Linked DNA regions of Homo sapiens: all the other regions are linked to region 1. Evidence: promoter capture Hi-C in 16 types of primary human blood cells and fetal thymus (Javierre and others, 2016). All regions are on one chromosome and are shown on one strand. Each heading gives the region's core, a stretch centred on a gene start or on the middle of the fragment in contact. The rest is flanking DNA. Distances are from core to core; before and after follow the strand shown.

Region 1 (3,073 bases), core at 1-2,500:
ATGACATTCACAACAGAAGCCGATTTTGCAAAGCCCTTGGAACTTAGGGGTCTGCGTCAGCACTCTGGAACGTCTATGCTTCCTAGGACCAAAGAATAAACAAAGATAACTCAAGGCATAAGGCGATCCAGCACCTAAGATCTCAGCAAAAAAAAGCTAGGTCCTGAGGCAGCTAGTGGAAAAACAAGAGAAGGGAAGTCAAAAGGCTACTTGCTGTCAGCTAAAGCCAGGTCAGTACTAATCTCTACTTTCCTGGACATTGGTACAAAAAGCAATGACAAGGCCATCAGTCCCCTGTTCCCCTCGCTCACTATTGTGTGTGTGTGTGTGTGTGTGTGTGTGTGTGTTTTGTTTGTAAGAAAATGCTTATAGTGGCTTCCCGCCCGCGCAGAACACAGCCAAGACTAAACTTTTAAACCTTGAGGAAGGTGGGAAAGTCAGCCAGCCAGACGCCGGCCTAGGAAAAGTAGGGAGAGAAGGAGGGAAAGAGTCATGTTTCAAAACAAAGGCTCCACACGGAACTGAATGTCAACCCCTCTCCACTTCCCAGCCTTCAAGCCAGCCAGGCTGGGCCTCGATTTTTTAGAAGCGGAGTAAGTCAGATTCACCCGGCTCTCAGCGTCCACTGAGGCTTTGCGATGCACGAGAACACGGGCACAGCCACCTACTTGCTGGGGCTGCTGCTAGCCCCCCCCCCCCCCAACCACCCCCTTGAGAAAAAACGGGCTTGGAACGTCGGAGACTTGCCCAACGTCCCACACTAGAACCTGAATTCAATTCCTTTCACGTCCGGGCAAGGCCAACGCAGGGCGGGCACCGGGCGAGGGCCGCGGGAGCCGAAATGGCAACGCCCCTGACCTGAGAGAACCTCGGGCTGGGAGAGGGGAGGGTCCCGCGCGCTCTCCCTCCGGGGCCCTTACCTTCCTTGACTCCAGGCAGCTTGGACTGGTCGATGCTGACTTCAGCCATACCGGGCCAGGGTCCCGGTTGCCCCTTTAACGCGGGCTTCCCGGTCACCGCCGGCGCCGAGCGGGGCCCCGAGCGCAGCAGCAGCGCCGGACGCGGCGCAAAGTCCGGCCGGCAGGGCTCGCAGGCCGGAGAACGGAGCGGGTCGGGCGGGCAGGGGCTGGTGACCAAAGCAGCGGGAGACGGTCCCCGAGGCACCAAGCTGGCGGCCCAGCTGCCCCGCCGCGGCCACCTGCTCCGCGTCCCCGGCCCCAATCGATACCAAATATCCGGAGCCCGGAAATGGACCGGGGCCGTCCAGTACGGAGGGAGAGAGGAGACAGAAAGGCGGGCGGGCCGGCTGGGGGAGGGGGAGCTGCAGGTCTGTAACCGCAATTGCGAGTGGCTGGCGAGCGAAGATCAGCGCCCGCTGCCGCCTCGCTGTTGTCTCCTTTGTGCTCAGTGACGCGCCGCCTGAGGCTGGGGCCCCGCTGTGCTCCCGCCCCCGGGCCCTGCCCCCCTCCTACGGGAGGGTCGCGTCTTTAGGTGGGGGCCTTGTATCCTAAAGGCCTCAACAAAAAGGCCACACGGGTCACCTAAAACATAGTCTTTCCCGTGAGCGGTGTAGTCAGCATTCTGTGGTCTGGTTCTGGGATTGAGATTAACACAGGATGTTTACTGCATGCTTGCCTCTCTCTCATACACTCTTTTTGCACCCGGAATTAGAGGAGAGATGGTAGATGGCCATAAAAACCCCAAATACAACGTACAGAATGAAGAGCAGCTGATAAAATTCTGGGCCAGTTTGGAGTAGAGTGTGTACACAATCAGCTGGGAGAACTGAGTCATTCATTCATCAAAATCGCATGAATGTGTCTACCAAGTGTGATGTTAGGTACTGTGGGTGATAACGAGGCGTCAGACTTATCTCTGTTATAGCGCTGCACACATTGGATTGTAATTGTGACATTTCTATCTCTCTAAAATAGACAACCTCTCCTGTTTCATCTCCTGGCAACAGAATGCATCCTCCTTTTGGGAAACTGCCTCTTTCCCCACTCCTCAGAGGTGAGCTTCTCTCCCAAACGTGTGCCATGTCTGAACCTCGAGACTACCCCATCACTCTTCCCCCTTCCTCCACCGACATGGGTTCATCGAAGGGTGGCTGGGTGACCAAGACAGGTCAAACAGAATACTTTCCTGGGTACATAAAGAGTTACATATTCTGTTTCTTGTGGAAAAGATCTGCCTCTAGGAGATGATGAGGCCAAACTGAAGACAGAAGCAAAGAGAAGAGAAAGGGAGATGAAGAGGGCATGTTCTGATGTTACCACAGTAGCAAAGCAGGATATCCCCAGAGCAGCTGGCATTTCAGCAACTCCTGGATTCTGGGATCTACAACCCGCAAACTCTCAACTTATCCTCAGTTTTGCTTAAGCTAGTAATAGTTGATTTTCTGTCACTCACAGCTCAGAGTCCCAGTATGAGAGGCCACGTAGGGGAGGTTTTATTTGAACTTGACATTGAAAAGTAGGTGGATTTTAGGCTAGCAAAAATTTAGAAGACTTTCAAGGCCAGAGGGTAGCAAAGTATAGCCCACAGGCCAAATCTACGCCACTGAATTTGAATGACTGTTTTTTATATGTTCAAATAATTACATTTCAAATCACTACATAAATAGGACATAATATTTTCGACCTTGCCTCTTAAGCCTCAAAGTCTAAAATATGCTTTACAGGAAAAGTTTACCCACCCCAGTGCTAGGCAGAGATAACACTCAGCAGGTTAAATGTGGGAATAAGAAGGAAGTGGTATTAGAAAGGTAGATTTATGGGAATTTTTTAATTGTCCTGTAATCTAGTAATTTTTTTTAACTTCCTGTGGTCTAGAGAATATTTATAACAGCAGTATTTTCTGTTTCCCTCCCCAAATCTATCGTTTCTACTTCTCTACCAAGCCGTGCCTTTGGATGCCTACAGATAAATCACTAGGCCCCTTTGACCTGTGGCTTCCTGTTGTGATTGACCAATGGGAAGCACTGGCAGAAAATCAAAAGAAGGGAGGAGAGAAATATCAGAGTATTCTTCTTTCCTTTAACCCAAAATTTTGGCCACAGTCCTGTCCCTCT
Region 2 (3,253 bases), core at 483-2,982, 1.1 Mb before region 1:
ATGGGTGACAGTATGAATGTGAAGATTATTAAACCATTTTAAGGTCATTTTAGTCATATTCTGAGATTTTAAAGTTGCCTACTCATTTTACCTGATGTCTGTGGCTCTCTGTTTGCCTTATTATATTCCTTTTCTTCTGTGAACATGAGTGTGTGTGTGTGTGTGTGTGTGTGTGTGTGTGTGTGTGTGTGTGAGAGAGAGAGAGAAGAGAAGTATCAGAACTGAAAATATAGGCCTAGATATGGGGATGGGGGTGATCAGAGCAGAAACCTAGGTACCATGTACCCTCTGAGGATATCAGATTTAATATTTAGGCAGAGAATTTTAGGGAGTGTTGATAAAACAAAACAATCAACTTTGGAAATGTGGAGGCTACCCTTGAGTTACCTGAGCTTATTTCCTGATACAAAGAGTTGATACCCCATTCTTCACTTTGGGATGACCCATGCATCTATTTGGCTCAAAAATCTGGGTGGATGGATTGATGAATTAATTCATTTATTTGAGTATTTTTTGAGTATCTGGCTATGTGCAAAGATTATTTTAAGCACTAGAGATAAGAAAGTAAACAAAATAGACAATGGCCCTGTCCTTATGGGTATTACATTCAAATAGGGATCTTCTAGCCGAGTTTCTCTTTGAAAAGGAAAAGGTGCCACTGGGTTAGTGACAGTGGGACTTAGAGTAGGGCTAAAATGATGGGCGGTCTGTTGTGACAGGTCTTTCAGCATCCTTAACCCAGCTATGAAGGAAAATAACCAAGTATCAACCATCTCCTAGGTGGTATAAGCCAAACCAATGTACATTTTTAAGGAATGAAAATGGAGGAAATTTATATTTTTCCCCTTATAAGCTTCTTTACTTTCTGTTTTAACTTAGTTTCCCTTTGATTTTCTTATTGAGCTCGACTTGAATTACTAAACTAAGAAGGAGAGTGTTTCAAGACCACCCTCCTAGAACCAAAGAAAACATAGTACCCTATCTTGGCCAACAATAGTAAAACCAGGAGTAGCTTCCTCATCTAGAAAAAGGAAAGAGCTTCACGGGGAGAGAATTGGGGATACTTGTTTCCTCTCCCTTCCAACACAAAATGATCTCTTCAAGGTCATTCACAAGATGTGAAACCATGTTAGAAGCTAGTGAATGGAAGTACATTTGGCATTCTCATTTTTCCCCTCCAGGTTACTTTAGTTAGGGCAGTAGTCACATTGAGGTTAAAAGGCCTGGATTAAACTCATAGATCTTCACTCATTGATTGTATGACCTTGGGCGATCACATTACTTATTGGAGTCTCAGCTTGTGAAACTGAATTATTATTTTCCCTTTAGCTTCCATCATAAGATTGTTGAAGAGTCTCAGTGAGATAATACATGAGAAGATGATTTGTAATTAGTAAAGAGTTACATAAATGTATGTGATCTGCACATTCTTATTTTATTGACTTTATTACATGATTGTAATTATTCATGGTGTTTTGTTTTTGTTGACATGCGTATAGCACAGAGGTAAAAGGGAAACTCTGGAAATAAATTATATGGGTGTGAATCTGAACTCTGGCAATTCTTAGCTGGGTGACCTTGGTTAAACAACTTAACCTCTCTGTCCTGGTTTCTTCATTTATAAAATGGCGATATGACAGAACTTACCTCATAGAGTTGTTGTAAGGATTCAATGTGTCAATAATTGTAATGCACTTATAAGTGTGTAGGGCACTTCTCATTGGCTCACATTAATTACATCTATGTTTCTTATCAAAATACCTATTCTCCAGAACATTGAAAATTTCCCTTTTTGGGCAATGATACCACCCTTCATCTATGTCATAAAGAGGAATTAAATCTGTTCTCTTTTCTGTTTTGGAAGATGATCAAAACCAGATGGACATATAACATGTAGTAATTCAGTTGTCGAATTGTTGAATAAAGCACCATGAATAAATTTGCTATATAAAGGAATTTACAAATTATTAGAAAGTAGTTCTTTATATTGCTTTTGTCAGCCTACTGTAACTGACAATATGTCAGAAAAAAGCAAGTGGAAATACAGCTACTTTATATAATAAAATTCATGGAGAAAAGGTCTTCTTCCATTTGCTGTGGCAGAGCCCAGTGAGCTCATATTCACCCGACTTTGAGTCAGGGGCCTGATCTCAGAGCAAGATGATGTATGAGCAGAGCTAGACTTCTTTGTGTTCTCAAGACAAGGACACTGACAATATTCCACTAATGAAATTCTGTTTGCCATGACAATGTCAAGGTTAATCATTCATTTCAAGTAAATTTTCAGCCTTTGTTAAATACATTCCAAGAGTGAATGATGATGTGTATGAATCATAAGGTGTGTTTTCCTGTTTTAGGAAATCTGTATTTTATGGCAGGGACTTAATTTAAATGGAGATTTTAATAACAGCATGGTCATTCTCATACTTTACGTTATTATCACATCTTCTTTGAGTCTTTCAAGAGCCTAGTTAGGTACTGCTAGTATTATTATGTATCTATTTTGCAGATGTAGTTTAGAGAGGTTGAATAACGTGTCCAACAGCATACAGCTAGTGGGCGATTAAAACAAGAGCCAAGAAAGTTCATAATGTCATGAACTGGAAGCTTGTTGAGGGCAGAGAGAATGTGGAAGTGTCTGGAATTTCACGGTAACTGACAGAGCCCTGGATGTAATCTGTGGACAATGCAATGTTTAAAATGAATGTGTAAACTAGCCCTAATAGTAGATTTGGAAGTTGAAAGACTTGGCCTATGAATAAGCAAAAGACCAAAAAGCCTCTGTTTTTCCTTTTAAAATGTGGAGATAATTAAGACTGCCCATGTTTTTATTTGTTTGACTAGAGCCCAAAAACATAGACTATATATATATAACTAAATATAACTACATAATTATCATTTTGATGTGCATTTGACAATTTTCTTCAAAGTAATTAAAACTTCTTCCACTCATAATGTCTTCAGAATAGGAATAAGAAATTCTTAAGTTGTTCAAAGAAAGCATAAAAATCAAAGTATTGGTATCCCTGGGACATAACCCTTTAAATACCTGGTTGTTAGTTTAACCTAAATCATCAGTAGGTTGGCTTAATTTCATTCCTGATCCCAAAATGCAAAGATATTGGAAATGTACGAGTAACTGTGGAGAAAGACTTATGAGATTTAGTGGCCCAGGTAGGAAACCTACGAATTTCTATATATAAAATAAATTGATTTAAGCATTGCTTCTGAGCTCAATATCCATATATTTAGG
Region 3 (3,064 bases), core at 184-2,683, 1.2 Mb after region 1:
TTTCTTCCCCATTAAATTCTCCCATTCTCTGATTTCACAATTTCCTTGAGATTGTGTCCTCTTCTTTGTATTTTTTTTAAATGGACTCTGTTCAAACACATTCCAAATCTTCTCTGTTTCATATTAATAGATAAAATCTCTTCCCACAGACACATCTTGGGAATTTTAAACCTCTTTAAGCCTCCTTCCTACCCTGATTTCTTGTACCCATGGGAGATGACTTAAGTTTGAGAATCAACAAACATTTCTTCATCATAGACACCAAAATGAAACTGCTTTTTGTTTAGCAGTCAGGTAAATGGGAGAGTAGCTCACAAAAAGTAGTAGAGGGTTACAAGTCTAGGAATCAAGCAATTTAATCTCTACACCCAGCTCTGTCATAAATGGCTTTCTCTAGTCCTTGGGGTTTGCATTTGGACTAGGGCAGCATTGGGCCAGTTACTTAATAAGAGCTCTTCTGCATCTGCCAGCTTGAGATGCTAAAATACTTTAGTGGATTGGTACAGCAAGCCAACAGTCTACCTGTGGAAACAGAAAACTGATGAGATTATAAAATAATGGAATATAAAATGCAATGGACATAAATTAGTTTAAAAGTTTACAGGAAAGGAATTACTTCCAGTGTATCTAATGCTGGTCCTCATCTTGGGGCAGTGAATCCCTTTAAAGTAAAACTTGAAAGGAAGTTACACAAATATTTAATTTAATGGTAATTTAAGAGGACAGAATAAACTAGGCAATGTTCAAGAGAGACAAAGAAGATAGATAAAAGGCTCAAAACCATATATGAGAAACAGCTGATATAGAGGATGAGTAAGCTAATGAAGAAAAGACAAGCAACAACAACAAAAAATCTCCTTTTGCAGTTTCAAAAAAGATTATCATTTGAGGCGATTGTTCCTGATCTTTATGGCACTGAAGAATTGAAGCACTAGGACCAAATAACAGAAATTACAGAAAACAAGATCTCGGCTCAAATGTGAAAGACTTTCCTCACACTATTCTGAGATCTAATAGGAAGCCCTAGAAGGTGTTCAAACGTGAGTCAAACAAATACCTAATGTAGAGGTTGTATTTAAGGTGCAAGCACCAGAGTGATGTTGAAATGAATGAGATTTAAAATATTTTCCAATCCAAAGTCTATAAGACTCCATGATTTTGTGAAATGAAAATTTCTCTTGTACTCACAGAAAGGATCATTAAAGTCTTTTTCATTGAAAAAGGCATACAGTTTTCTAGCTTCCTTTTGAATTCTAGTTAATGTATTTTAGGCCATGGTTGCCAGCCTACTCCCTATAAATAGTTACATAATGCAAAAAAGAAAAGAGGAAAAAACAGTACCAAGGCCCTAAGACACACATGCCAGAACACACATGCATGGAATATTTAGCAGTAATAATATCCACATGCATGATTGGCATCAGTCCTCTGATTTCCGACTCTTGTCTCCATGAGATGACATCTGAGATGGATTTAGTTGTGGTTACATAGTACCACTGGGGGTTTTAAGTTAAATTTATTACAACTGATCAGGACATCCGTGCTAGGAATTGAAAGTAGGTATGCTTCTCTGAGCGAATATATCGTGATATACTAAGTAAAAGCAATTTCATTTATAGAGGCTTTGCAATCCTATTCTGATTTGCTTCCTGTATGTACTGTCCAGAGGCCAATCTTTAAACCTGGTGGTGTTCTACACTGTAGTTCATTTCTCAAACTTTGATACTGTTAAAGAAATTTAAAGGGTATTAAAATATTAAATATTTTATAATAATATTTAAATAATCCCTTTATCCAGCTCCCTCCTCTTTGAAGTTCTTCCCTCACTCTCTAGTTGGGAGCGGGAGGAGTGCCCTGATACCATCACTGGAGTGGAGGGGAGTGGGTGGAAGTCCATGCTGTCTCGGACCAGCTGACATAAAGGTGAATTGAGCCGTGGTTTTTGCCCCATGCTGTTTGGCTGGAGTAGGATAGATATTATCACTAATATTTCTGTTCTGCTATGCCTAATCCTTTGACTAGAGAGAGCATGCTTTCTAAATGATCTTTGAATGATGATGATGATGAATATAATTTGGAATGGATATGATTTCAGATCTCTAGCAGAGTTTTGTTACCAATACTTTACCACAAAAAGCTACTGAAGGCAGGGTGCAGTGGCTCACTCCTGCAATTCCAGCACTTTGGGAAGCCGAGGCTGGCAGATCACTTGAGGTCATGAGTTCAAGACCAGCCTGGCCAACATAGTGAAGTCCCGTCTCTACTAAAAATACAAAAATTAGCCAGATGTGGTGGCGGGCACCTGTAATCCCAGCTACTTGGGAGGCTGAGGCACGAGAATCGGTTGAACCTGGGAGGCAGAGGTTGCAGTGAGCCGAGATCGCACCACTGCACCCCAGCCTAGGTGACAGAGCAAGACTTCATTGAAAAAAAAAAGCTACTGAAAAACTTTTCTAATGTTGAATAAAAATCTCTAAGTCAACTTTGTCACCACTACTAAATTAACCATAAGTCGGTGAACCGGATTGTGCTATAGTTCATGTCAAGTTGTTGAGTATTCTTTCCTACCTCTGCTTTAGAAGTATGGAAAAGTCCCAGTGCTCTTTCAGCCTTGCCACCAGCCTGCCCTTTCACTTGTTTATATGTCTGTAGATGAGCTCCTCTAGAACACTGTGATTTAACTCTTCATAAATAAATACAGATTTGATCATCCTGGTCCACTTTCCCAATAAGATAGTTAACAAAGGTTTACCTAATGTGTTATTTATGGAAAACCAATTTACACAGAGTTTGGAATAGGGAAAAAAAGTTTCTAAGTAATGATTTCTTTTCCTGTAACCCATTGTCCCAGATTAAGTCTGATAGTCTTATGATCAATACCTCCTAAATTCCAGATTATTGTGTGTGAATCTTTGACCTAAACATTTACATATGGCTGATAGTACTATTTGAGTCTTGCACGTGATGGAAACTCATGCTTGTTGAATTTGAATTGTCAGTTCTCCTAGGACATAGGTTTGTCCATATGATTTTACACAGTTATTTAGAAAACTAGCATACCTCA

The links. The method cuts DNA at HindIII sites, captures the fragments that hold promoters and counts their contacts. A CHiCAGO score of 5 or more calls a contact.
Region 2: a contact is called between a fragment that was not itself captured here and the fragment with the promoter of CCDC50 in region 1, in 1 of 17 cell types (endothelial precursors). The highest score is 6.4, in endothelial precursors.
Region 3: a contact is called between a fragment that was not itself captured here and the fragment with the promoter of CCDC50 in region 1, in 1 of 17 cell types (neutrophils). The highest score is 5.9, in neutrophils.

Annotation. Positions count from the first base shown.
Region 1 is chr3:191,327,571-191,330,643 of GRCh38, reverse strand. CCDC50 (coiled-coil domain containing 50) reads right to left here and starts at 1,250. Exons shown (of 12, transcript NM_178335.3): 1 at 921-1,250. The coding sequence starts at 969. UTS2B (urotensin 2B) reads left to right here and starts at 118. Exons shown (of 9, transcript NM_198152.5): 1 at 118-230; 2 at 1,935-2,013. RefSeq lists enhancers at 481-1,081, 1,082-1,683 and silencers at 1,095-1,374, 1,475-1,554. The HindIII fragment of the contact is 9,896 bases long and covers 1-3,073 here.
Region 2 is chr3:192,412,673-192,415,925 of GRCh38, reverse strand. All of the region lies in intron 2 of FGF12 (fibroblast growth factor 12), which reads left to right. Among named protein-coding and RNA genes, the nearest start is that of FGF12-AS2, 100 kb to the left of the region's middle. The HindIII fragment of the contact is 1,754 bases long and covers 856-2,609 here.
Region 3 is chr3:190,103,173-190,106,236 of GRCh38, reverse strand. All of the region lies in intron 1 of P3H2 (prolyl 3-hydroxylase 2), which reads left to right. Among named protein-coding and RNA genes, the nearest start is that of P3H2, 16 kb to the left of the region's middle. The HindIII fragment of the contact is 4,214 bases long and covers 1-3,064 here.